7 separate regions of the Homo sapiens genome follow, and all the other regions are linked to region 1. The links are contacts of gene promoters, found by promoter capture Hi-C in human tissues and cell types (Jung and others, 2019). All regions are on one chromosome and are shown on one strand. Each heading gives the region's core, a stretch centred on a gene start or on the middle of the fragment in contact. The rest is flanking DNA. Distances are from core to core; before and after follow the strand shown.

What was found. Contacts are between HindIII fragments. The study calls those that stand out against the background at their distance.
Region 2: a fragment that was not itself captured here is called in contact with the fragment with the promoter of SHISA9 in region 1 in 4 of the 25 tissues and cell types used here (dorsolateral prefrontal cortex, lymphoblastoid cells, mesendoderm cells and 1 more).
Region 3: a fragment that was not itself captured here is called in contact with the fragment with the promoter of SHISA9 in region 1 in 5 of the 25 tissues and cell types used here (H1 embryonic stem cells, bladder, dorsolateral prefrontal cortex and 2 more).
Region 4: a contact is called between a fragment that was not itself captured here and the fragment with the promoter of SHISA9 in region 1, in 1 of the 25 tissues and cell types used here (dorsolateral prefrontal cortex).
Region 5: a fragment that was not itself captured here is called in contact with the fragment with the promoter of SHISA9 in region 1 in 2 of the 25 tissues and cell types used here (dorsolateral prefrontal cortex and lymphoblastoid cells).
Region 6: a fragment that was not itself captured here is called in contact with the fragment with the promoter of SHISA9 in region 1 in 6 of the 25 tissues and cell types used here (aorta, dorsolateral prefrontal cortex, heart left ventricle and 3 more).
Region 7: a fragment that was not itself captured here is called in contact with the fragment with the promoter of SHISA9 in region 1 in 2 of the 25 tissues and cell types used here (dorsolateral prefrontal cortex and mesendoderm cells).

What each region holds. Positions count from the first base shown.
Region 1 is chr16:12,899,856-12,903,534 of GRCh38, forward strand. It overlaps SHISA9 (shisa family member 9), which reads left to right and starts at 1,743. Exons shown (of 5, transcript NM_001145204.3): 1 at 1,743-2,772. The coding sequence starts at 2,210. The HindIII fragment of the contact is 6,671 bases long and covers 1-3,679 here.
Region 2 is chr16:13,897,737-13,901,415 of GRCh38, forward strand. LOC105371093 (a long non-coding RNA gene) reads right to left here. Exons shown (of 4, transcript XR_007065000.1): 3 at 659-784. Among named protein-coding and RNA genes, the nearest start is that of ERCC4, 21 kb to the right of the region's middle. The HindIII fragment of the contact is 8,964 bases long and covers 1-3,679 here.
Region 3 is chr16:13,735,749-13,739,427 of GRCh38, forward strand. No RefSeq gene overlaps it. Among named protein-coding and RNA genes, the nearest start is that of ERCC4, 180 kb to the right of the region's middle. The HindIII fragment of the contact is 8,935 bases long and covers 1-3,679 here.
Region 4 is chr16:12,093,652-12,097,330 of GRCh38, forward strand. The region is part of intron 11 of SNX29 (sorting nexin 29); the gene reads left to right. Among named protein-coding and RNA genes, the nearest start is that of SNX29, 120 kb to the left of the region's middle. RefSeq lists an enhancer at 3,039-3,679. The HindIII fragment of the contact is 9,110 bases long and covers 1-3,679 here.
Region 5 is chr16:13,687,325-13,691,003 of GRCh38, forward strand. No RefSeq gene overlaps it. Among named protein-coding and RNA genes, the nearest start is that of ERCC4, 230 kb to the right of the region's middle. The HindIII fragment of the contact is 5,935 bases long and covers 1-3,679 here.
Region 6 is chr16:13,643,269-13,646,947 of GRCh38, forward strand. No RefSeq gene overlaps it. Among named protein-coding and RNA genes, the nearest start is that of ERCC4, 280 kb to the right of the region's middle. The HindIII fragment of the contact is 4,069 bases long and covers 1-3,679 here.
Region 7 is chr16:13,626,282-13,629,960 of GRCh38, forward strand. No RefSeq gene overlaps it. Among named protein-coding and RNA genes, the nearest start is that of ERCC4, 290 kb to the right of the region's middle. The HindIII fragment of the contact is 3,717 bases long and covers 1-3,407 here.

The sequences.
Region 1 (3,679 bases), core at 493-2,992:
AGGAGCTGCTTTTAGAAAAAGCAAGCTTAGTGAGTATGTTGCAGGCACTGAATAAATGTCAGCTCTCATTAGCTCTCACACACCAGTGCTTGTGTTTGTAGGACTCACAAGGTGGTGGTGGGCGTGGGTTGCCAGTCATGACAGACTTTCCATACTCTCCTATTTTGGGGATTCTATTATAATGAATCTGGTGAATCTGGATTAAACGTGTTCATACCTTCCCCAGATGGGTTTGGAATATAATACTCCTGGGTATGCCCTGTCAATGTCTTGCTGTGTGTTTGCAAATCTTTTTTGAAACATCAAAATGTGACTTTTTTTTTCAAAGAGAAGGGGCGATTAGCCAAACTTCTCATTTGGAGAAAACTTGCAACAGAGTCCCAATAAATCCTCCCACCCTTTCTCAATTCAGGGGACCCTAGTAAACCATTTTACATGTCGCCCAACTTTTCGTTCTCTGAAGATGCCCTGAGAAGCCCTTGACTGCAGCCAAGTGGAGAGGAGGGTTGTGGAAACATTATCTCCTTGCAAATCGCCTAGCAGCCTGCAAAGTGTATACTTAGTTAATGCAATTAAAAAACAAAACGCCGGGGCGTGGGGAGATCTAAATTTGGTGTAGCAGCTTTGGTGCAAATCCTGTTTTGGGGCTACTGGAGTCAAATTCAAGCAGAGGAGAGAAAGAGGTGGGAGAAATGAGAGAGGGCCTCCGGGGAGCTGGAATTCGCTAGGAGAGAGAGGGCAGATTTGGAAACACAGAGGAGACGGGAGGCTGGAAGCTGAGGAAGCAAGGCAGAGCTCTGCAGCCCCCGGTGAGGATTTCCGGGGGGATCCGTGGGGACAGGGGCCAGCCAGCTCCAGAGACCGATGCGCGGGCTCCAGGTCCGGGAGGGTGGCTGAGGCTGGGTGCCCAGGCCTTGCGCTGCGCCAGATCCGGGAGCGCAGAGGCGGCGCCGCGGTGTTCCCTCCTGTGGAGCGCAGAAAACGCTGCGGGGGCGAAGAGGGACAGAAAGCGGCAGGTTCGAGAGGCTGGGGGACTTCCAAGGAAAGACCTTCCAGGACACGCCATAGCCTCGGCCTTGTTCGGCTGTCCCCTCTTACCCCCGACCTTCTTTGATTCGTTCATCCCGAGCCCCTCTCCCCCGGAGGGTGCTTATCCCTGGCTCAGGGGCTTGCCACCTGTCCTTCCCAGCTCCGCCTGGGTCCTTGCTTGGGCCCAGAGAGTTGAGCCATGCGGGTTGCGCTCAGGGCTGGAGGGCGCAGCCGGGAAGGGCAAGGAGGCCCCGCACGCCTGGGAGGGGCGATCCTGACCAGACTGCACCCAGTCTGTCTTGGAGTGAAAGCCATTTAGTCTGTCCCCATCCTCTCCGAGTCATCCTTCCCCTGATGCACAGATTTCGGCCGCCGCTCCTGCACACGCACCGGTGAAAAAGCTACGAGCTGAGCCGCCTCTGCGCTCTGGACAGGGCTGAGCCGCGCCTCCTACCCAGAGAGGGCGCGGGAGGTCCTGCCGCGGTTTTCCACCTGCCTGGAAATCCGAGCGGCTCCTCTAGCCTCGGCTGCTGCCGAGCTCGCTCCTCCCCGTCCGCTCGCCTGGCTCAGCTCTGCACGCCCCCCAGCTAGCTCCCGCTCTAGTCACCTCTTCCCCGCGCCCCCGCCCCTCTAGAGCTCGCGCCCGCCCCCCCCCACCCGCGCCTCCTCTGCCCGCCCTCCTCCCCCTCCCCCTTCCCTCCTGCCCTCCCTTCATTCCACAAGTGTCGCTTCGCTCTCTTCAGCGCACTTGGCGAGCTGGTGAGGTGAGAGGGATACTGCGAGAGGGCTAGGGGCGGCCAGTCCGGGGCTGCCGGCCAAGGCTAGGCGCTGCCAGCCCGATTCTCCTCTGCTCTCCACCCCCGCCTCACCCAGTGGCCGGCCGGACCTGCACCCCGCGCTTGACCCCGCTCATCCTCCCCCCGCCCGGCCGGGCGCGCTCCTCCCCGGCCGGCCCCTCGGCGCGCGGCGCGCTGGAGGCGAACGCGGGCTGAGGCGAACGCGGGCTGAGCCGAGCGCAGTGGCCGCCGACCACCGAGCGCCCCGCGCCGCTCCCTGCATGTGCGGCCCGCGGCGGCTCGCAGCTCCCGGCAGCAGCCTCGGCAGCTTCGGCCGCGCCTCGAGAGGCGGCCGCAGAGGCTCCAGCGGCGGCCGAGCGGCCGAGCCCGGGCTGGGAGACACCATGCGCCGCGTCCTTCGGCTGCTCCTCGGTTGCTTCCTCACCGAGCTGTGCGCCCGCGTGTGCCGGGCGCAGGAGCGAGCGGGACACGGGCAGCTGGCGCAACTGGGCGGCGTGTTGCTGCTGGCGGGGGGCAACCGCTCCGGGGCCGCCTCCGGAGAGGCCAGCGAGGGCGCTGAGGCATCGGACGCGCCCCCGACCCGGGCGCCCACGCCGGACTTCTGCCGGGGCTACTTCGATGTCATGGGCCAGTGGGACCCGCCGTTCAACTGCAGCTCGGGCGACTTCATCTTCTGCTGCGGGACTTGTGGCTTCCGGTTCTGCTGCACGTTTAAGAAGCGGCGACTGAACCAAAGCACCTGCACCAACTACGACACGCCGCTCTGGCTCAACACCGGCAAGCCCCCCGCCCGCAAGGACGACCCCTTGCACGACCCCACCAAGGACAAGACCAACCTGATCGTCTACATCATCTGCGGGGTGGTGGCCGTCATGGTGCTCGTGGGCATCTTCACCAAGCTGGGGCTGGAGAAAGCGCACCGGCCCCAAAGGGAGCACATGTCCAGGTGGGCTGCCTCCCCTTCGCCCTCCCCTCGGGGCTTCGCTCTCCCTGCTCTCTCCTCCCCACCTTCCCCCAGGCAATGGCGCTCCCCACGGTCCCCGCTCCCCGCATCCCAGCCTCTCCGCTGGGGGATGTCACCGGGAAGCCAACTTCGGCTTGGAACACGGAGAAGGGGCGCTGGGCTCAGCACAGGTGTGGGTCTGAGCGTGTTCGTGTGTGTGTGAGCGTGTGTGTGTGTGTGTGTGACTCTGCTCCCTCACCCTCTGGCCGCCTCCTCCCGCTGGTGACTGAGGCGGACTTGAGACACGTAGCCTGGGAGCCCGTGGCCCCGAAATCTTCGGGTTTGGGGAGAGGGTCCATGGCACCCCTCGGATTCCAGGTGCTAGCTTTTTGGTAAACAGGGGCAGGCGAGCCCGAAAGGGGAGGGGGGCGTGTGTGAGCCCGAGCGCGCGTGTGTGAAGGAGGGAGGGTCAGAGTGAGTGCCGCCTGCAACTCGTACGACTCGCGAAAAGGAGACGAGGGAGGTGGAGTGAGGGGAGGGCGAGAACAAAAGCCTTGCTTGGAGCGGCCGCCTCGCTTTCCCAGAGCTTCGCCGTCCCTGGATTTGGGACCTCAGCTGCCCCCGCCCCTTTACCCACCTCATCCCTTTCTCTGGCCACCACTTCTCCCTGCCCGGGGCCGTGGCCATCGCTGCAGATTGAGCCCCTTGCCCTGGCTGGCGTGGACTCCGGGGGCCCGAGCCCCCTCCTCGCGCGCCCTCACTTCCAAGCACCCTGATTTCGTCAACTTTCGGGTTTGCCTTGTTCATTATGCAAGCCCCAGCACCAGCTAGTTCCAGCAGATGGGAGAAGGCTTTGGGGGATTAATGGAGCTATTTGCCTTTTGCTTTTTTTAAATTTTTTTTATTTTAA
Region 2 (3,679 bases), core at 629-3,128, 1.0 Mb after region 1:
TTCTTCAAGCATTTCAGAAAATCTGCAGGAATTTTTCAGATAACACTGGGACGCTGTATATTTTTATTTTATTCTCCCTCCTGTCCTTTTAAAGAAATATTTAATGTAGTCCCAGGGTCAAGATCTTCTAAAGGAAGTAAAATGAATTTGAGTTGTTACTTTATAAACTGCTGCAGGAAACAACAAATAATATAAGCAATTTGTTTTTAAGTAACTGACAATGGAATGGTAATTTCCTACCCGTGGCTTTACTCGATGCTGGGTCACTGAACACTGCTACACTGGCATCATGGTTAACTTTGACTATTCAAGGTCAATAAATGAGCACACTTCTTTAGTGAGACCCTATTTTCTATTCCCCTTCATGGCATAATTCTCAAATCAATGATTAAAAAACTCCAGATTTTGCTTTTATATATATCAGCTTTGTGGTAGCATTTTTAAAAGAAAAAAAAAGCAGAGAAGGAAGAAAAAAGTTTGAATCAGTGCTATAGGAATTTTCTCAAGAAGAAAGAAAAAAAAATTCTCTTTCCAAGGGGATGCATGAGGTTCTCTTCGCTTCGTCTGTCTCCTTTTTTAATAACTGCATCAGCTTGATGTCTAGGATAGGAAATCGTTAACATGTTTCAGATGAGGGCATTAAGACCAAAATACTCACATGAAGTCAGATGGGATGGAATGGGGTGAAAATCAGACTCTGCCAGGCTGCAAATGCCATGCCCTTTCCAGGCTCAGGGTAAGAAATGTCCTTTTACTACACTCCTTTGTGCCTGGTTCAGTAATGCTCAAAACATGGGAGAGAGGGAGGAATAAAAGGAAAGTCATTTCAGAGGTTAATTTCATTTTTACACTTCAGAAAGTGAAATGAGGAGATTTGACAAGTACCTAATTAATTTGATCTGGGTAAACAGCTCAAATGGATCTTTTTCATCTAAAAATAACTCCACTATGGGACTTGGCTTAATACAATCGTTCTCAAAATGTGGTCCCCAGACCAGAGTTAGCAGCAGCACCAGCACCTAGGAGAACTTGTTAGAAATGCAAATTCCACACTGGGCAGGGTGGCTCACGCCTGTAATCCCAACACATTGGGAGGCCAAGGTGGGTGGATCACTTGAGGTCAGGAGTTTGAGACTAGTCTGGCCAAAATTGTTGTAAAAATACAACAATTTTGTATTTTTAGTAGAGACTGTGAAACCCCACCTCTACTAAAAATACAAAAATTAGCTGGGCATGGTGGCAGGTGCTGTAGTCCCAGCCACTCCGGAGGCTGACGCATGAGAATTGCTTGATCTGGGAGGCAGAAGTTGCAGTGAGCCGATATCATGCCACTGCACTCCAGCCTGGGCAACAAAATGAGACTCCGTCTCAAAAAAAAAAAAAAAAAAAAAAAAAAAAAAAAAAAAAAAAAGAGAATAAAGCAGATCACAATGCTTGGATACATACAAGTTCTCCCATCACATTTTTATTCCCAGAGTCAGTTTGCTGTGCATCCCTACTCAAGGCGCTGCTATGGCCTGGGTTCACCCATTGATGTGCACCATTTTGTTAAAATAAATCATCTTATTTTATGCATTAAATGCAGCATGTGTGTTATTACCCTCACCTAAGTTTGCGTGGCCTCTCAAACGACCACCGAATCAGGTGGCACTGATCCTACAGCTGCTACCAAGATCCTGGCTGTGGGCCAGGAGTGCTGGCTCACGCCTCTAACCCCAGCACTTTGGGAGGCCAAGTCGGGCGGATCACTTGAGGCTAGGAGTTCGAGACCAGCCTGGGCAACATCGTGAAACCCTGTTTCTACTTAAAAAATATAAAAATTAGCCAGGCGTGGTGACGTGAGCGCCTGTAATCCCAGCTACTGTAGGCTGAGGCAGGTGAATCACTTGAACCCAGGAGGTGGAGGTTGCAGGGAGCCAAAATCACACCACTGCGCTACAGTCTGGATAACAAAGCGAGACGCTGTCTCAAAAAAAAAAAAAAAGATAAAAGATCCCGGCTGTGGCAGCGAGTGTTGTACCCTATTAGGGTAATGACAGCTTGCAGCTATCTTCAGAGCTACTATAAATGCCTCTTATTGATATTACTAGCTTAATGCTGAAGCTTAATTCCCTCTTAATAAAAACACTGCAGTTTTTCACATTAATTACAACAGTGAGTAATGGTTACTATTTGCCTATAAACATTCCACACTTTTAAATAACACAAGATGTCTCCACAACAGTTACGAATTACATTTATCAGCTAGTGACAAATCCCAAAAAGATAACAGTGGCTTCAACAAATTAGAGGTTTATTTTTCTCACATATGAAAGAAGTCCAGAAGTAGACAAGCCAAGGCTAGAGGTAGATGTATATCACAAAAATTAAGTTTCTGCAGTCTTTCTACTCTGCTATTCTTTCTCTTTTTTTTTCTTTTTCTTTTTTTTTTTTTTTTTTTGAGACAGAGTCTCGTTCTGTCACCCAGGCTGGAGTGCAGTGGCGTGATCTCGGTTCGCTGCAAGCTCCGCCTCCTGGGTTCACACCATTCTCCCGCCTCAGCCTCCCGAGTAGCTGGGACTACAGGCACCCCCCACCACGCCTGGCTAATTTTTTGTATTTTTAGTAGAGATGGGGTTTCACCCCGTTAGCCAGGATGGTCTCGATCTCCTGACCTCGTGATCCGCCCGCCTCAGCCTCCCAAAGTGCTGGGATTACAGGTGTAAGCCACCACTCCCAGCCTCTTTTTTTTTTTTTTTTTTTTTTTTTGAGATAGAGTCTCACTCCGTGGTCCTAGCTGGAGTGCAGTAGCATGATCTCAGCTAACTTCAACCTCCATCTCCTGGGGTCAAGTGATTCCCCTACCTCAGCCTCCCAAGTAGCTGGGATTCAAGTGATTCTCCTGCCTCAGCCTCCCGAGTAGCTGGGACTACAGGTGCATGCCACCACATGCAGCTAATTTTTTGTATTTTTTTTAGTAGAGACGAGGTTTCACCGTGTTAGCCAGGATTGTCTTGATCTCCTGACCTCGTGATCTGCCCACCTCGGCCTCCCAAAGTGCTGGGATTACAGGCGTGAGTCACTGTGCCCGGCTTAATTTTCATATTTTTAGTAGAGACAGGGTTTCATCATGTTGGCCAGGCTGGTCTCGAACTCCTGACCTCAGGTGATCCGCCCACCTCTGCCTCCCAAAGTGCCAGGATTACAGGGGTGAGCCACCATGCCCTGCCCTACTCTGCTATTCTTAAAATATGGCTTCCATCTTCAATGTTGTCTCATGGTCACAAAATAGATGCTGGAGCTCCAAATATCACATCCATATACCAGGAGGAAAAAAAGAGAATGAATAGAAGAGAAAAAGGGTGTGCCTCCCAGCTGATTTAGTTACTCATTGTTTTTTGATGCTATTAATGTTATTTCTATTTACCATCTAAAATTATCTCATGTATCATAGAAGATACATGCTGCATACTTTTTCCATAAGTAAGTGGGTGCATGATGATCACTCTTGAGTCTGCTCGGCTCTGAAACATTTATCTTCCCCTTATTGCACTGTCATTCATTCTCCCCAAGGCCACAACCACAATGTGTGCCGGTACTGTATTGTGACATTCTGTACTGAAGGGCTGGGTCAGCTGCAGAAGGAATACTCAATACAAGAAAGAAAAGTTTAAAGTCGTCACTGCTAAGGGTTTCCTCT
Region 3 (3,679 bases), core at 717-3,216, 840 kb after region 1:
GGATACATGTGCAGAACGTGCAGGTTTGTTACATAGGTATACATGTGCCATGGTGGTTTGCTGCACCCATCAACCTGTCATCTAGGTTTTAAGCCCCGCATGCATTAGGTATTTGTCCTAATGCTCTCCCTCCCCTTGCTCCCCACCCCTCAACAGGCCCCAGTCTCACTGTTGTTTTCATTTGCGTCTACCTGATGGCTAACGATGCTTAGAATTTTTTCCTATGCTTATTTTCCATTTGTGTTTCTTCCTTTGAGTAGCTTCTGTCCAAGTCTTGTTCTCCATTTTATTGAGCTTCTTTTAATAAGCAGGAAGGAAGACTGCTTTCATCAAGCAACTCCACAAGTGGCTCTCCAGCGGCTTTCCATCAAACTGGGATCTCAGCCAGAATCAAGCTTCCAAGCCCGATATTATATTGCTGGTCCCACCAGGGAGTTCTTTTTTGATTGGACAGAAATAGAAACCTCCCTAGGTCCATCTGAATGTCAGAAACAGTGAAGTCACATGCAAGGGCATTCTGGATGGAGAAAGAGAATGTTCCTGCCCTTCTAGCAAGAGCTTCCCACTTAATGACATACACAACTAGAGGGAAGGCACTGTTACCCCTATGCAGGCAAAGGTGACTCTCAAGGTAGGCAGAGACAAACAGCATCTGTTGACAAAATTCCCTGGTGGTCCAGTGGTGCACACAAGGACAAGAAATCTCAACAAAATATCCAGTAAAAAAAACACAATCCTCACATGGAAACTCTAGAACTAATAGCTCCTTAAGTTACTTAACCACCATGCTCAGCCCGTGCTGAAGTGACACCACCATTCATTTAGGAAAGGAATCCTTAGCTGTTAGATGCTTTTAATTCCAACATGAAACTCAAAAGTGCCACCTTTCCTAAAAGGAAGCAAATTGTGTGTGCTTAGCCATTTGAGGGCTCAATTATCATGTTTGCCCCTGCGATTAGGAAATGACTCCCACTAATTGGGTAATTGTGTACCTAAGTGCCCAATTTGTGTGGACAAATTGAAGGCATGATATAAGCAAATCAACCTACATGTAAAATTTTTTGTCCCTGTGAACCTAACTATCACTGAATGTCAATCACAAAAACAGCCAATTGTATCCACGTCTGAGTGAAGGCTTTTAGTCAAAGTGATTTTTGATATCTGAGTCTCATTGATGATATGAAATAATAATATATAGATTATATAACACTTAGTATTAAATATGAATCATGTCATCTTCCTGGCAAAGAAGTCGGCCGAGCTGTGGATTCTTACAAATGGTTAATGATGCCTTCCTCAAAAAAGATGTCAGCTCTTATTGCCAAATAAAGAGGTAACAGTCTCAAAGAAGAGGGTGCTTAATAAAGGGTGAAGGAAATCTAAAAGGTTTTAAGGTTCTGTTTATGGGTTTCAATAGCTGCCATATGCCAGATCCTGTGGTAAGCATCTGACATGCATTATCTCATTGAATCCTACAATTTACCTATGAAGTAGATATGTTATTAGCCTCATTTTACAGATGACAGAGACATTACAGATTTACATTTTACAGATTTACAGAGACATTAAGAGAGCTATCAAGTAGTAGAGTCAGGATTTTAACCCACCTCCTTCTCTCCCACCTCTCACCTCCAATCCATCTTCAAGTTCTGGGGATTCCATCTCCTTAATTTCTTTTAAATCAAGTTATTCTCTCCACCACCACTGTTGCTAGCCTTGGCTCTGGCCATCGCCCTCAACAACAGTTTTCAAGCTGACTTTCCTTCTACTATCTTACATCCAGGGTACTCTTTCTATAATGCAAATCTGAATGCATCTCCTCTCCTGCTAAAATGCTATTTCCCTCATGATGAAGTTCCAATCCCTTTACATTACAATCATGATCTCTCCTACAAAACCTTAGAGAAGACACTAGAACTCTACTCAGGCTTACATCCCCCGCACATCCATGAAACTGCTCTTGCTAACATCTCCAGTGACTCCACAATGCCAGGGCAGTAATGAAATCTCAGTTCTCTTTGCAGTCATGCTTTGAGAATCATTTGACAAAGTTGATCATCCCCTCTTTCTTGGGCTTTTTCTCCACTTTGATTCCTAGATCCTACACTGTCTGATTTCCCCCTTCTTCACTCACTGTTCCTTCTGTCTATCCCAGGATCTGGTCATGGAACCTCTTCTCTATTTATACTTATTCTCTCAATGATCCCATCTAGATCCATGACTTTTAATATCATCTATACAATAAAGACTTTAAAATGTGATTCTCCAGCCCTAACCTCAATTACAAACTTCAGACTCAAAGTTCCAATTACCTAGTTAAGTCTCTACTTGAGCATCCAACAGGCATCTCAAACTTAAGACGGCCCAAAACTGTTGATTTCACCACCTGCTCCCAATCCTGTTTCTTCTGCAGTCAATCTCTAGACAAATAACAACACCATCATTACAGTTGTTTGAGAGTTATCTTTTCCTCCTCTCTTTCTCTCAAGACCCATATACAAGACATCAGCTAGTCCTGTCTGTTCTACCTGCAGAATGTATCTTCGATCAGAGCACTTCTTCCTACATCCAACGCAAGCACTACCAAGCCACCATTGCTTCTTACCCCACTACTGACATAGCTGACATAAACTCCTCCACTTCCCTGCTTTCACCCACACTCCCTACTGCCCATGCTCAATACTACAGAGAGATCTTTTCAAAACATAAATCTGATCTTATCACTTCCCTTCTCCACACTCTCCTCTCCTAGCTCCAGTGCTTTCCCTTCACACTTAGAAAAAGAATCCTAAATCCTCTCCAACTCAGTTCTTTTCCTCCATTCTCCCCCCTTGCATATAGAACTGTAATTATCCTTTAGCCAGCATCCTAAGTATATTTTATATCCTTCTTGGTTACACTAATGTAATTCCATCCTACAATCCACCAGATTTCTCTTCTAATCTGTATTACCCATTAAACAATAATAACTACAGTTACTATTTGTTGAGTGCTGACTGTGTGCTATTTCTCTTGCTTGATCAGCTGCATTCCAGAACTCAGAAAATCTCACCCATATCTGAAATTGCTCCATGTTCGTGCAGCATGATGCTCAAGTTTATTTCTTCTTCTTTTTTTTTATTTTCTTTTTTTTGAGGCAGGGTCTTGCTCTTTCATCCAGGCTGGGGTGCAGTGGTGTGATCATGGCTCACTGCAGCCTCCTGGGCTCAAGCAATCTTCCATCCTACCCTCCCTAGTAGCTGGGACCACTAGGGCACACCACCACATGTGGCTAATTTTTTGTATTTTTTGCAGAGATACGGCTTCACCATGTTGCCCAGGCTGGTCTCCAACTCCTGGGCTCAAGCGGTCTGCCCTCCTCAGCTTCCCAAATTGCTGAGATTACAGGCGTGAGCCACCTCACCAGGCCACAGGTTTATTTTTCTTCAGCCATATGTGGTGTCTGCAGTAGGTAGTGGTCTCATAGCGACAAAAAAAAGCAGACACAGCTGTATTAATTTGGCCTCACTTAGCGCCTACATCTCCTAGGCTCCTGAGGGCATGCTCGTTCCCATCATGTGACCTTTAGTAGAGATCAAAGCCCAGTTTCAAGTTGGTGTCAAACAGATGTTGTTTTACCAAAGCTCCATGCTGCTTCACATCCTGATTTCAAGCAAGTCAGACAGACTGGAATGAGGCT
Region 4 (3,679 bases), core at 459-2,958, 810 kb before region 1:
GAACTCGTTTTCCCAGTCCTTGAAATGGTGGTAATATTATCCCCTTGGTGGATTCCTGGGAGTTATATGAAGTGTCTGTTGTATCTGGGAACCTCATTGGAGGCTCATAGATAGTTTTAGAGATTTCAGATACCTCTTGCAATTGTGTGCAAAATCGTGCTTGTGTGTTTGTGCACATACGTGGATTTTCCTGGGGAGAAGTTCCTTTGCTTTCACGACTCTCCTTCAGAGTGTTCCAGGCTTTAGAAAAAAGTAAGAAACACGAAACACTTCAGGTAGTTAGCAGGTGGTAATTGCACATAGTGTCTGGGGCAACACTGGCAATCGTGGTATCATTATTTTTGTTTTTACTGTTCTGCTTGCTGATGTTAAACCAGCTACACTGGCTGTGTTCTTACGCACATCCCTACATGTATTAGCAGTGGGAACCTGGGCAAGTTATTTAAGCTAACTGTGCCTCAGCGTTCTCGTCTATAAAATGGGGCTATCATAGTACCCCTCTGACACAGTTGTGAGGATTAAATGAACTAACAGATGGAAGATACTCAGAAGATACACTATGTAAATTACCACCTGAGCTATCGAAGGGTGTTATATGCTATGTAAATTATACCTTGATAAGAAAAATTGGAAAAAAAATCCAAGAGAGTATCTGGCATCTTAAAGACTGAATAACTGGTAGGTGTGATCATTAACAACACCCTCAAAGGGTACGTTGCTGACGAATCTTCCTGAAAACAACATCTGGGCCTTATTGTTGAACTGCAAATAGGTTGACCTGATTTTCCATCTTACTGAAACCATCCCTCCTGCAGAGGCCCTGAAGTTCCCTTTAGCTGGTATCTACCCCTCAATCCTCCCTCTGGTTAAGAGGACATAAACCAGGCTACTCTTTCTATGAGGCCTGAAAATTGGAAGTGATCACGCAGGATGGTGGTTCTTAGCTGGGGGTGATTGCAACCCCCAGGGGACATTTAGCCATGTCTGGGACATATATGGTTGTCACACCTGGGATGAGGGTCCTTCCGGCATCTGCTAAGTAGAGCCCAGGGATGCTGCTGAACGTCCTGTGGTGGACAGGACAGGTCCTCCCAACAGGACAGCTCCTCCCAACACAGCATTATCTAGTCCCAAACGACAGTACTTGAGAAACCCCAAGACAGAAGGAAGCAGCAGGGCCGTTTTCCAGGAACCGTATTTTGTCTTAGGCTTTTTTTTTAAAACCTCTCGCCTCCTGCATAGGTCAAGGAATGAAACTTAGGAAAAAATGAGCCTAAAGAAAATGATAGATCCCAGGGAGCATTTGTTTGTGTGTGTGCGCATGCATGTGTGTGTGTATGTTTGGGAGCTTTTTCGTGCCATCACTCCTGCAATGAAGATGATGATTTAGGAAGGCAGTAGATGCATAATGATACAGACCTGTGGAATGCACCAGACTAAGTGATCCTGACTCCGTAGCTGCGGAAGTACCGTCACTGCTGCGGAAACCAGCTCACTGGTACTACTTTACTAGATCTTAATCAAAATTCATTCAGTTGATATTTGTTGGTGTTTACAACAGCCTTGTCTCCCTTCACCTCCTTTTTAACAACAAAGTTTCTACTCTTGAGTTAATTTCGTTTGAATATATGGTTATTTGGGAGCTGGAGGTTGCAAGAAAGCGGCTCAGGCTTTATTCCTGCCAATTTCAGGAAGAGCCACATTGGAGCCACCAGGGGGCGCCCTAGTCTTTTCTCTGCCGCTTTCCTTCCGCAGCTGCGGGTGGTGGTTATCTGAATTTTTCATGTCCAGCGCGGTACCCCTTTCAGTGGTGAGGTCGCGAGTGGTGGTGGTGTTGAGAGCAGTGGTCTTTTCTAGTTGAAAAACATCAAGCATGCATGCAGCTTTCTGTTCACCATCAGTATAGCACAGTCATGCATTGCCAGTCACTTTGTGGTCCTGTTCTAAAAGGGAATTTGCAGCTCATCAGAAAACATTTCCCCTGTGTCATTGCTTTTCATGAGATATAATTGATTAGCTGTGGGTATTCAGCTTTTGAATCCCGATTGTTGCCTTCTTGCCCCTTTTTTTGGGGCTGGGGAGTGAAGGTGATAGAGTCAGGTGAGCCCAGACCATCCGGCCCATTTGTTTCCTTTTAATTTGTTAGAGCTTTTGATTGTGAGCCAGGGCAGAGAGGGCAAGAAAAACATCCTTACTTGTCAATAGGCTGTGTTGAGGGGGTCCTTTTTTTTCCTCTTGGCTATTATTGGAAGAGATTCTCAACGCTAGTGAGGCGTTCTGGCTCATCGCCTAGCAACACAATTCCAAACATTCGGCAGCTCCAGAAATGAAGTTGAGGAGTGCTGTAGTAACATCAGAGAGAGATGCGAGGCCCCGCAGCCAGCTGCTTGCTTGGCTAAGGGCTTCATGATAAAATTTTAGGATGAGATGGTGGGGCAGTGGCCGTTAAATCGGCTGCAGTCTGAGCCCCCTGCCCCTTAACTGCCGAGAAGTGAACCTAGGTGACGTGGCCAACACAGATCCCTCACGCTGGGCATCTTTCTTTAAAGGGGAAACTTCCCACTGAATTTTGTGTATTAGCCCTTCAGTGACTGTCTTAGTGTCTTAGTAATTGGAAGGTTCCAGATGGCATTTAGACATGCCTCACTTCTTTATCATCTGTTTATTCATTCACCAAACATTTACCAAACATCTCTCATGTGCTGGGCGCAGTTCTAGGTGCTGAGGAGCCAGAGGTGGGGATCCAGCTTGGCCATGCACAAGCTCTGTGTCACATGTTAAAATTTCCCCATCATTATAATGCAGATTTAAGAGTGCCAGCACCATGGGCTGTTGTGAGGACTAAATGAGTTCATACACAGAGAGTGCTTTGACATTGCGCTCAGCACTCAGGAGATGTTAGCTCTTCTCACATGGGCCCTGCCCACAGAGCATTCTAGTGGAGTTTTATGGTAATAAAGAAATGATGAATGATTGGATGGGGCAAAACGGGAGGCAATGGGGTCATGTGGGAGTGATGTACTCTTTGTTATCTGTGGCACTGAACAACCGCCACTCGATCCACCCATGGGAACGAGTTCCCCGTGAAGTGGGAAATTCCTAATGGAAGTTTTAGGTTATGCAGTACAGCTCCCAACTCCTTACCTGGAAAAAGACCAGTGCTGGATGCTGGTCACTCATATAGACCCTGGATTCCTTGCTCCCAGGAGGGGAAGGAGGAACCGATGACAGCAGGATGAATGTAGCAAGGATAGGGTGGCTGAGGTCCAGAGGGTCACAGGAGGGAAAGGTTAAGGGCTCGGTGCAGGGGAGGTCAGGAGGTCTTGCACAGATGGGGATGCTGGGCCAGAAGGGAACCTCCCTGCAGTGTGCAAAGGGGGCTGACAGTGATCTTCCAGGCTGCACCTCTGGTTCCGTCACTAAGCACTGCAGGATGTCGGGATGGGCTTGAGGAGCTGTTGTCGCCATTATGAAGCCCTTGAGGAAGCATTGGTGATGGTGCTGCCGAGTACTGAGTCTGTCCTTGTCACCCGTTAACTCACGCATGTCTGCGATCCTGTGAGAGCTTGCGGTGATCCCCATTTCACAGAGGAGACGGGAGTGCTTAGCGGTAGATAAACCTAGCCAGCATCACACAGCCAGTGGCCGGTGGAGCTGGGTTGCACAGCTAGGCTCTTAC
Region 5 (3,679 bases), core at 851-3,350, 790 kb after region 1:
CAAGGTCACCAGATGAAATCTGGGGGAAGCTTTAGACCTGTCCAGCAGAAGCGAGACCCACAGAAGAAACACAGCCACCCTCAAGAACCCGATGAGCACAGGAAGGGTGAGAAAAATACCCTACCTTCTCCCTTCCTTCCATTCTCTAATCTCCCACCAGTGCCTCCACTACCTAAACCCACTTGGAAACAGCTAATATAGGAGATTTGGAAAACATCCCACCACACCTACATACCCTGACTATATAGTTTACAACAGGTAATAGAAAAGATAGATCTGAGGGCAAACAGCCCAGGACCAGTATACCATACCATTTTACCTTTCTATCTCCTCTCTCCTACTCAATGTTAATAATATAATTTTGTTTGGCTATTTTCATAGCACTCATTATTATCTCAATGTCTCTATATTACTTGTCTATTCATCTTCCCAAATTAGAATATAAGCACCGTGGTTTTTGTCTGTGTCTTCAGCACCTTGAACAGTGCATGCAGGGCACTCAATAAATATTTATTGAAAATATATTGAATGAATCATTACTATGTACCAAATATTGTACTAAGAATTTTACATAAATTATCTCACAGAATCCTTATAACGATATCAGGACTGTTTTAACTATGAAGAATCTGGGGATTAGTGGGGTACTATGAGGCACTTTGCCTTGGAAGGGTTCCAGTACCCAGCAGGCTGTCAACGATATAAGCTGAAAAGAAGAAATAACCCACCTACATATAAAATCCATCAAGGTGACATTTTGCCAATTAAAAATTCAGTTCTGCTATTAATGAGTATCTTATTCAACACCTTCACTGAGCAGTGTTGGATAAAGTAGTTGACATTTGCCCATCACTTTCACCTCTTCCAAAGAGGGAGAGAAAGGAAACACACCTGAGTTATTTTTAATTTCTACAAGGTACCAAAACACCTGACCTTCACTACTAATCCTCAGACAATGAAAGTCTTATTCCAAGCCTTTCAACAGTACCTTCATTCTAAGCTGGACACCGGACAATGTAAAATACTATGTCTTATTGGTATCTATTAACAGACATTTTATTTTATTTTTTTGGTGTTATGTTTATTATTTTTATTTTTTATTTTAGTTTTTGTGGGGGACAGTAGGTATATATATTTATAGGGTACACTGGCTGTTCTGATACAGGCATGCAATGCATAATAATCACATCATGGAAAATGGAGTCCCCCTTCCCTCAAGCATTCATCTTTTGTGTTACTAACAATCCAATTATACTCTTTTAGTTAGGATCAGGAAAAATAACTAATGAGTACTAGGTTTAATACATGGATGATGAAATAATCTATACAACAAACCCCCATGAAACAAGTTTACCTATGTAACAAACCTGCACTTGTACTCCTGAATTTAAAATAAAAGTTAAAAAAAAAAAAAGAGGCCGGGCGCAGCGGCTCACACCTGTAATCTCAGCACTGTGGGAGGCCAAGTCAGGTGGATCACAAGGTCAAGAGATCGAGACCATCCTTGTCAACATGGTGAAACCCCGTCTCAACTAAAAATAGAAAAATTAGCTGGGCATGGTGGTGTGCGCCTGTAGTCCCAGCTACTCAGGAGGCTGAGGCAGGAGAATCGCTTGAACCTGGGAGGTGGAGGTTGCAGTGAGCCAAGATTGTGCCACTGTACTCCAGCCTGGCAGCAGAGTGAGTCTCCGTCAAAAAATTAAAAAACACCAGGATGATTAAAAAAATGAAAGAAAATGCAGTACTTATACACAATAGAGGACTACTCAACAGACATTTTAATCTAATTCTAGGTGTTAGTTGTCTCTGGTGAAACATGCTTATCTAAGAAATGGCAGACATCTAAGTTCCATCCACATGGTTTCATATACAATGAAACAGGAATTACAAAGCCACATTAAATTTTGGGCCAAGTTTTTTACTCATGGAATCTGGCCATGGGGCATCTGTCCTTTGAAATTTAAAAAAAAAAAAAGAAAAAAGAAAAAAAAAAGAACCTAGGGAGACTCTGCTTGTGGAAGCACCAACACCCTTACCCTAACTGAGCTCCATGTTGGTACCTGCTGTGTGTGAATCATGGCTACCCAGGCTTCCCCAAGGGAGAAGCCAAGCTTCTGTCTTTAGCTTCTGAAGCAGCTTTTCATCTTGTAAGAATGTCAACTGTTCATTTTGCAACACAACCAAGCAGGGACTGTTTCAGACCTTTGCTCCATTAAACCATGACTTAGAAAAGACAATTAAATTTCCACAGATAAAGATACAGATATACAAATGTACCGTCGCGGCGGCTTTTAAACCCAAATCTAGTTTAGGCTGGTTTATTTTAAAGCCACAGAATTTTATTAGGCTTTACATTAAATCAATAAAGAAAGTTTGGACCAAAGTTTGGAGAGCTTTGGATATAGTCAATGGATTCCTCAGAAACCTACGAAGTGCTCTGAAATTGCTCTGAAATTGGCTTGGGATTTCTGCCGTGCTCAGATGAAGTGACAAGAGTTTCAGCCAAAGCTCCCCAACTTATACCCATCACTGGTTGTACTCCACAGGGTCATATAGGAAAAACGTATGATTTTTCTCTTGGAATGTGCTATTTCCAGGTCCTGTTATTGGTCTTCCAGGTGAACTCTTATAGGACATGAGATCCTACGTGTTAGTTTTAGTAATTTATCTTCTAGACTATTTCAACTATTTAAAGTGGTTTATATACATGTGCATAGTAAAGCCATAAAAGGAAAATTAACTGCAAAAAAATCAAGGTGAATATACTGTGGTTTATAGAAACAGTGCTATGCTCTACAGCCATTAAAAATGATGACACAGCCCTCTATATTTTGATATAGAATATTCTCCAACTTTCCTCATTCAGTCACGAGAACAACATGCAGAGCATAATGCTATAATTTGGTTTACAAAAAGGAAGAGAAAAATACATATAGACTACCCTTGAAAGGATATACAAGAAATGCTTAAGAGTGACTGTCTCTGGGGAAGAAAATTGGAGACGGATTGCACACCTTTTTAGTTGTCTTTTTAACCACATGCATTTCTTACTAATAAAATAAATACATAAATATACACGAACTAAGTCTCTTCCAGGCTGGGCACGGTGGCTTATGCCTGTAATCCCAGCACTTTGGGAGGCAGAGGTGGGAGGATAGCTTGACCCCAGGAGTTCCAGCCTGGGCAACATGGCGAGACCCCATCTCTAATAAGAAAAAGAAATTCTCTTCCAATTCAAGGCAAGGTAAATAAAGCCCTTGCCATTGACACTGTTGTTACCCCACTCAGATCTTTAACAGGCCAGTGTGCCCATATGTGTCATGAGTACTGGCTGCTGAAGGCTCACAGTTGACCCCTGTGGTTTCCCTTGCCTCAAGGTGGGATTAACTGTGATGCAGCATAGGTTCCAGAGTTCACCTTGAGATCAGGTGGAAGCCAGTCTCCAGCTGACCCACCCTGGCTGAGTTCTTTTCCCCTGCGCTTTCACTCCCCTTCTCCTAAGAGCATTCTCAATAAACCACTTAAAAAAGAACTCTCATCTTAAGCTCTGGTTCTAGGGAATCTGGTCAAAAACAGTATTACAGAGATAAAGGTAAAGGTTTACAAAATATTAAGGCTCTAAAAACAAATATATGCTGTCTCCACATTATAGTCAATAATAATTGTTTTTTCTTAAGGT
Region 6 (3,679 bases), core at 618-3,117, 740 kb after region 1:
GCCCAGGATTTTAAGGAAGCATATATAAGGGTGCTTATCCCAATCTTGGGTGAGGGAGTATTTCCCAAGTTGAATGTTAGAGAATGAAAATTAATCAGACAATAAGGAGTGGGAAGAGTGTTGTGGAATAAAGGAAGAACAGAGAGGTGAGGAATGGCATGAAGCACACACATGAATGTGCATGTGTGGGCATGCCTGTGTGCGTGCCTGTGTGTGCATGGCTGTGTGTGCATGCCTATGCATGTGCCTATGTGTGCATGCCTCTGTGTGCATGGCTGTGCGTGAATACCTGTGTGTGCACGGCTATGTGTGCATGCCTGTGTGTGCATGCCTGTGTGTGCATGCCTGTGTGCATGACTCTGTGTGCATGGCTGTGTGTGCATGGCTGTGTGTGCATACCTGTGTGTGCATGACTGTATGTGCATGGCAGTGTGTGCATGCTTGTGTGTGTGTGCCTGTGTGTGCATGCCTGTGGGGAGGGCAGTGAGAGGGTTGCCAGGCAAGCAGCTCAACAATACCAATACATAAGGAGAAGGTGGTTGATGAGGCTGGACCCGTGGGCAGGGACCACCTCATCATGCAAGGGAGTTTCCATGCCAAGCTAAGACACATAAATTGACTTTGTAATACCCCTGTTCACTGCACAAGAAGGAGGAAAAATTTCCCCTTAGCGGAATTTAAGCCAGTACAGCACATAAATGAACAAAAGCTTCTGTCATTCTCCTCTTCTATGCTTAAGGCTCCAACAATTTTCCTTCAATTTCACTCTCCCCTTCTTTTACTGTATCCTTCTTCAGCAGGAAAGTACCTTTTTTATATACTTTATTGGATTTTTATTCCAAGCTACAAAATGCCTGCTTGTGGCAACAAGTCAAAAACAGAGGTTTACAAAGAAAAAGGCAAGTTTCTCCCTCCTTGCTCAATCCCTGACACTCATTCACCAAAGAAACAAGGCTGTTATGTGTGATCTTTCTCTATGTTTATACAACTATATGAAAACACATATGGTCATATAAATAAAGGGTTTTTTCCCTACTTTTTTTAAAAAATGGACTATACTGGTCTCATTACAGTATACAACTTGCCCAGGTTAAATATAATGCAACTTGCTCAGATTATAGGTTGTAACTATTAATAATTACTATAAAAGCGGTAAAATATTCCACAGAATGAGAAAATGTCTCCATTCAACTATCTTGATTGGGGAAAAACATAGGGTTTGCTTGTTGCTTTTCTTAGCCATTCTCAATAATATTGCAATAAACATGCTAGTACTAGTACTCTTGCTTATTTTATTTTTATTTATTTATTTATTTTTTCTTTTGAGAGGGAGTCTCAGTCACCCAGGCCAGAGGGCAGTGGCATGATCATAGCTTACTGCAGCCTAGAACTCCTGGGCTAAAGTGATGCTCCTGCCTCAGCCTCCTGAGTAGCTGCAATTACAGGTGTGAGCCATTGTGCCTGGCTCGAGAACCTAGTTTTAAGCATGTCACCTGACTACTCAGGAAAGCAACCCCCTATGCCAGAAGAGTCACAGAGAAAAGTGGTCCTGAAACTATACTAACTCAAAGCCATTCCCTGTTTTTGTTTGTTTGTTTGTTTTTGTTTTTTGATGGAGTCTCACCCTGTTGCCCAGGCTGGAGTGCAGTGGTGCTATCTCTGCTCACTGCAACCTGTGCCTCCCGGGTTCAAGCGATTCGCCTGCCTCAGCCTCCCAAGTAGCTGGGATTACAGCCACTGGCCACCACGCCCGGCTAATTTTTATATTTTTAGTAGAGATGGGGCTTCACCATGTTGGCCAGGCTGGTCTCAAGCTCCTGACCTCAGGTAATCCACCTGTCTTGGCCTCCCAAAGTGTGAGCCACCATGCCTGGCCACATTCCCTGTTTTCTGCCCTTCTCCATCTCACTGAATAAGCCATAAACTCTCCCACCTCAGATCTGCTCAAACATTCTCCTCTTCCTAGGTTGCCATTCTTCTCCCAACCCAAATGCACATGTCACGCTTAGTTCAAGACAAAGCTCAGATTCCACGTTTTCTAAGAAGGCTCCCAAATCTCTCTATGGCAATTAATCTCTTCTTCCACCATCGCTTGAACAACAATAAGAACAACTTCAACAGTTATCACTGTGATGTGCTGGGCATCGTGTTAACGCACATTAAATGCATTATTTTATTTTCTCTTCAATAACCTGATTTAGGTAGGTGATATTGTTATATATATTTTGAAGGTAAGGAAACTAAGTCTCAGAAAGGTTAAGTCACTAGTCCAAGGACACACAGCTAATACGTGTTGCAGCTGGGCTTTACATTCAAGTCCAGTCATCATTCAATGCTGCATAATAAAAGAAAAATTCCATTGAGCAAGCTTCTAGTTTAATGGCAAACAGGTTGAGCCATTGCTTTGTAAACACTGCCTGCCATAGATGAATTTGTTTTCTACATTTTTTAAGCGGTCTTATCTCCCAGTGAATCTTATGAATGGAGCAAAGTTGTCAGGTTCTACAGTAAATGGCATGCGATGTGATGTTGCCAGAATTCAAGCTTTCTTCTGCTAATTTTTCACTGGGTTGCAAGCTTTAATTTAACTGTCAGACCCTGGGTCTTTTGCCAGCACTAATGGAGGATTGTGGCAGTGATGGTAATTATTTCTAGACTTGGTACCTCCTTCGTTTACCTTCTGGTCGCAAATATTCAGCAGCTTCAAGCTAATTTCCTTCCTGATTTTCTTCATCAGTTTGCAAACTCCCACTGCCAACAAAAACAATGCATCTGATAAAAACGTCAACATGGAGTGTTCGAAATATTAAAACTGTCAAATAAAAATTGTGTTTTTACAAGGCAGTCCAAATATGTCACACATGTGGAAATCATTTTTCAAAGACAGATTGTATAGGTCAAAGAGTTGTTGGGCTATTTTTTTTTTAACCCACAAAAACAAACCCAACCATGACAGTTTCTTGTATATTGGTTTGATATCTTGAAAATCAGCTTCCAATCTACTCTGGACAAATTTGATAAAAAACACTGGCATCAGATGTCCTTTCCTCAGATGAAGACCACAGGCTTTCCCCTCTCTGTGGAATTAATAGAAGAATTACCTGAAAGAAGATACTATGATTTAGCTTGCTGTTTATATTTCATTCTTCCCACCATTAAACAATGTAGACAGAACATGGGGCCTGTCAACCAATGCTTATTATCAGACGTGCTATTCTCTCGAAAATCTCAGAAGCCGAACACCCTGATTTAAAATGCTAGGTAGCAACTAAAGTTGTGGATGGGAATGAAACCACCAAAGATAATTGATAACCAGAAAGGAAAGGTGACTAACCCTGGGTAGGGCTAAGCTGCAGAAGGAGACCAAGGGTGAAACACAAATGGGTAATTTTAAGTAGGTTTTCAAGGGGGCAAAATCCTCGCAAATGGAACACTTTTACAAATAAACGCTGGCATTTTTACAGTGCTTACTTACCGGCAAGGAATCATTCGGGGGGCCTGCATCTTCCACTAGACCCAATTCAAGGGAGGCTCATGTGAACAGGTCAATGGGTGTGGGGGTGTGTGTGTGTGTGTGTGTGTGTGTGTGTTCAAATCCCAGTTCCTCATAACATAGAGGGAGGAGTGTTGGTATAACAAGAAGCCAAGTCATGTCTAAAAAAATACTTACGTATACACC
Region 7 (3,679 bases), core at 299-2,798, 730 kb after region 1:
AGAAATGTCTATTCAGGTCTCTAGACCATTTTAAACGGGATGATTAATTTTTTATTTCTTGCTATGGAGTGTAGGAGCTCCTTATAGATTTCAGAAGTCAACCGTTTATCAGATATATGTTTTGCAGATATTTTCTCACTTTCCTGAAGTTGTTTTTTCTACTCTGTGGAAATTTCCTTTGCTGTACAGAAGTTTTTTAGTTTGTTGTAGACTTATTTGTCTATTTTTGCTTTTGTTGCCTATGCTATTGTTGTCAAATCCACAAAATCATTGCCAAGATCAATGTCATGAAGCTTTTCCCCCACTTATTCTTTCAGGAGTTTCTTCCAAAAGAATTGAAATCAGGATCTTGAAGCGATGTTAGCACTCTCGTGTTTATTGCAGCACTATTCACAATAGCCAAAATGAAGACAGACAAGCTAAGTGTCCATCAGCAGATGAATGGATACAGAACAATGAAATATTACTCAGCCTTCAAAGGCAAAGAAATTCTGCAATATGTAACACCATGAACTGAACCTTGAGGACATTATGCTAAGTGAAATAAGCCAGTCACAGAAGGACACATACTGCAAGATCTTATATATATGAAATATTTAAAACAGTGGCCGAGCGTGGTGGCTCACACCTCTAATCCCAGCACTTCGAGAGGCAGAGGGGGTAGGATCACCTGAGATCAGGAGTCTAAGACCAGTCTGGCCAACATGGCAAAACCCCATCTCTACTAAAAATACAAAAATTACTCGAGCGTGATGGCACGTGCCTGTAATCCCAGCTACTCAGGAGGCTGAAGCAGGAGAATCGCTTGAACCCTGTAGGCGCAGAGGCTGCGGTAAGCCAAGATCACACCATTGCACTCCAGCCTGGGCAACAGAGTGAGACTCTGTCTCAAAATTTTAAAAATAATGATAATAATAATAATAAAATAAAATAGTAAAATCACTGAGTTAAAAAGTGGAATGGTGGCTGCTAGGGGATGAGGGAAAGGGAAATGGAGAGTTGTTCATAAGCAATCGTAAAGTTTCAGTTAAGCGGAATGAATACGTTCTAGAGATCTGCTGTACGACACCGTACACAACCAACAATCCTGTGTGCTTCGACATTTTTTAAGAGATCTCATGTTGAGTGCTCTTATCACAGTAAAATATTTTTTTTAAAAGCGTGTTGCTAAATAAATAAATCATGATACTATTTACATGTACACACATGCAGGCACACACATTTCAACACATTTTCTATTCTACATATTTTCGATTGGCAAGTGTTTTTACAAATACAAAGAATCGGCCGGGCATGGTGGCTCATGCCTGTAATCTCAGCACTTTGGGAGGCCGAGGCAGGCGGATCACCTGAGGTCAGGAGTTCGAGACCAGCCTGGCTAACATGGCGAAACCCCATCTCTCTTACTAAAAATACAAAAATTAGTCAGGCATGGTGGCACGTGCGTGTAATCCCAGCTCCTCTGGAGGCTGAGGCAGGAGAATTGCTTGAACCCAGGAGGCGGAGGTTGCAGTGAGCCAAGATTGTGCCTTTGCACTCCAGCCTGGGTGACAAGAGTTAGACTCTGCTAAAAAAAAAAAAAAAAGAAAAAAAAAAAAAAGAATCACGTCTGGAAGTTCACATACACAAGTGCTGCCTTTGGAGAAGTGGAGAAAGAAATAGTATTTTAAGGATAAGAAGGCTGTCAAAGGGATTTTTAACCACATCCATAAGGGTTTTACTTTTAATAACGAGAGTATGCATTATTTATGTAAACAAAAAGTAATCATTTTTAAAAGAAATTTGTTTGCATGGAGGAGAAACTCGAAGGTGGAAGCTTAATTGGAAACTATTGTAATTGTCTAGGTTTGAGGCCATGGGTAGCAATGTTAGAGATGGAAATGACAAAGAAAATTACAGTGTATGAGTCAACAGAATGTAGCGTAGCAGAAAAGAGAGGCCACAGACTGAGATTCAAGGGAGAGAGTGAGTTCAGCTTTATAAACCAAAGTCCTGAGGACCGCTATTATGTAAACCTCTATTGCTTGCATGTGGATTGCTTTCTCTCGCATAATAATGACCAATTAGATCAGTTAATTTTGTCGATTAATTAGTTACTTGGTCCACAGCTGTGTTAACAGCTTTATGAAACAACCACAAAGAAACCCCCAGACAGCTGATTTGATATTGAGTAGCTACAAGCTTGGTCTTGTTTAATAAGAAATAGACCAAATGAGGCTAGAAGGTATTTATCAGTGCATTGAGTCTGATACACTAAATGGTTCACTACTGATCCAGGGAATTTATTTTTATGCCATCAAAAGAGAGTAGTTCAAACCTTGGGTGACTTGGATTTAAGCATTTCTGGTCAGTACAGAGCCTAAATGCATATTTCACTTGCATCCAAGCAAAATGACATTTATAATATCCTTTTCAAGGCCCACAGATAGCCCCTTTTCTTTCTGACAGCAGATCCATTTAAAAATACAGTTACTGAATCAAGTTTCATATTAATTCCATTGGCAGTCTTCTATTGGCAATACTAAATATAGTTCACTTCAAATAATGTAAGATGCAAGATGATTAACCTATTGAAGCAGAGTTCTTAATGTTGGGCAAATGAGGGTGGTAGCCCATGGATGGACCTCACAGATCTAAGCACATTCTGAAATATGATGAGGCAAAATTCTCTGAAGTTTTGTTTCTTAATTTGTCAGGGAGCACAAGTCCATGGTTTAAATGAGTTTTTTTAAAAAAAAATTTTTTTAGGAACTGCTACAGTTTTTTTTTTCTACACAATAGGTCATTGTAGCTAATTGAATTGTTCTAAGTGGACTACGAATTGCTGATTCTGACATACAAAATTATAAAATTGAAGTTATTCATAGTAAGTCAATCCTTTAAGGAGCCTATGACATGTGAACGAATCAGTTTTTAAAAAGTTACAGTCTGTGATAGGTCAAACATTTCTCAGAAACAATGTCTAAGAAGAAAAGTTTTAAGGAGAAAAAGGCTTAGTCTGGCTGATAAAAATTCTGGGAGACTTTTAGAAGCAGAAAGCACTGAAATGTCCTTTATAGAACAGGTAGGAATTTACAGACAAATTATGAAAAGTCAAGTTCTCAGTTAAAAAAAAAAAAAAAAAAAAAAAAAGGTGGGGAGAGGTTTAACCAGAGTCGTGGAGACAGGAAAAGAAAAGTCGTCCTCAACAGCTGAAACTTTCAGGGCAAAAGTAGGAGCAAAAACAAGAAATAAAGTCCTACTTAAGAAGGCTAAGCCCTATTCAATAGGAGATGTAAGAATTGAGGAGTTATTTAATGTTTCGGATCAAGGGGATGACACGAAGAGTAGATCTATCCAGTGTGGAAGTAGAAAGATTGGAAGAGACAGGGCCATTTTTCTGTACAATATCCAGGATAGAGAAGATGAGCCATTAAGACCAGCTGGGGCATGTGCAAGACCAGCTAGGGTTTGGAAGTAGCTTGTTGCCAAAATCAAAATTTCTGCTTCAATTGACTGCCTTTTTCAAATGCTTAGTTGACATGTGCATACATAGACACAAACCCTTAGCATCTGCTGGACTAAGTCCTAGGAGTACGCATTTGCAATATTCCTTCCCCTAGTAACTGACCTTTATCCTGGTTTGTCCTGGTACACTCAGTCCAAAAAGATACAGTTGCAGCAAACACCAGAGGACAGG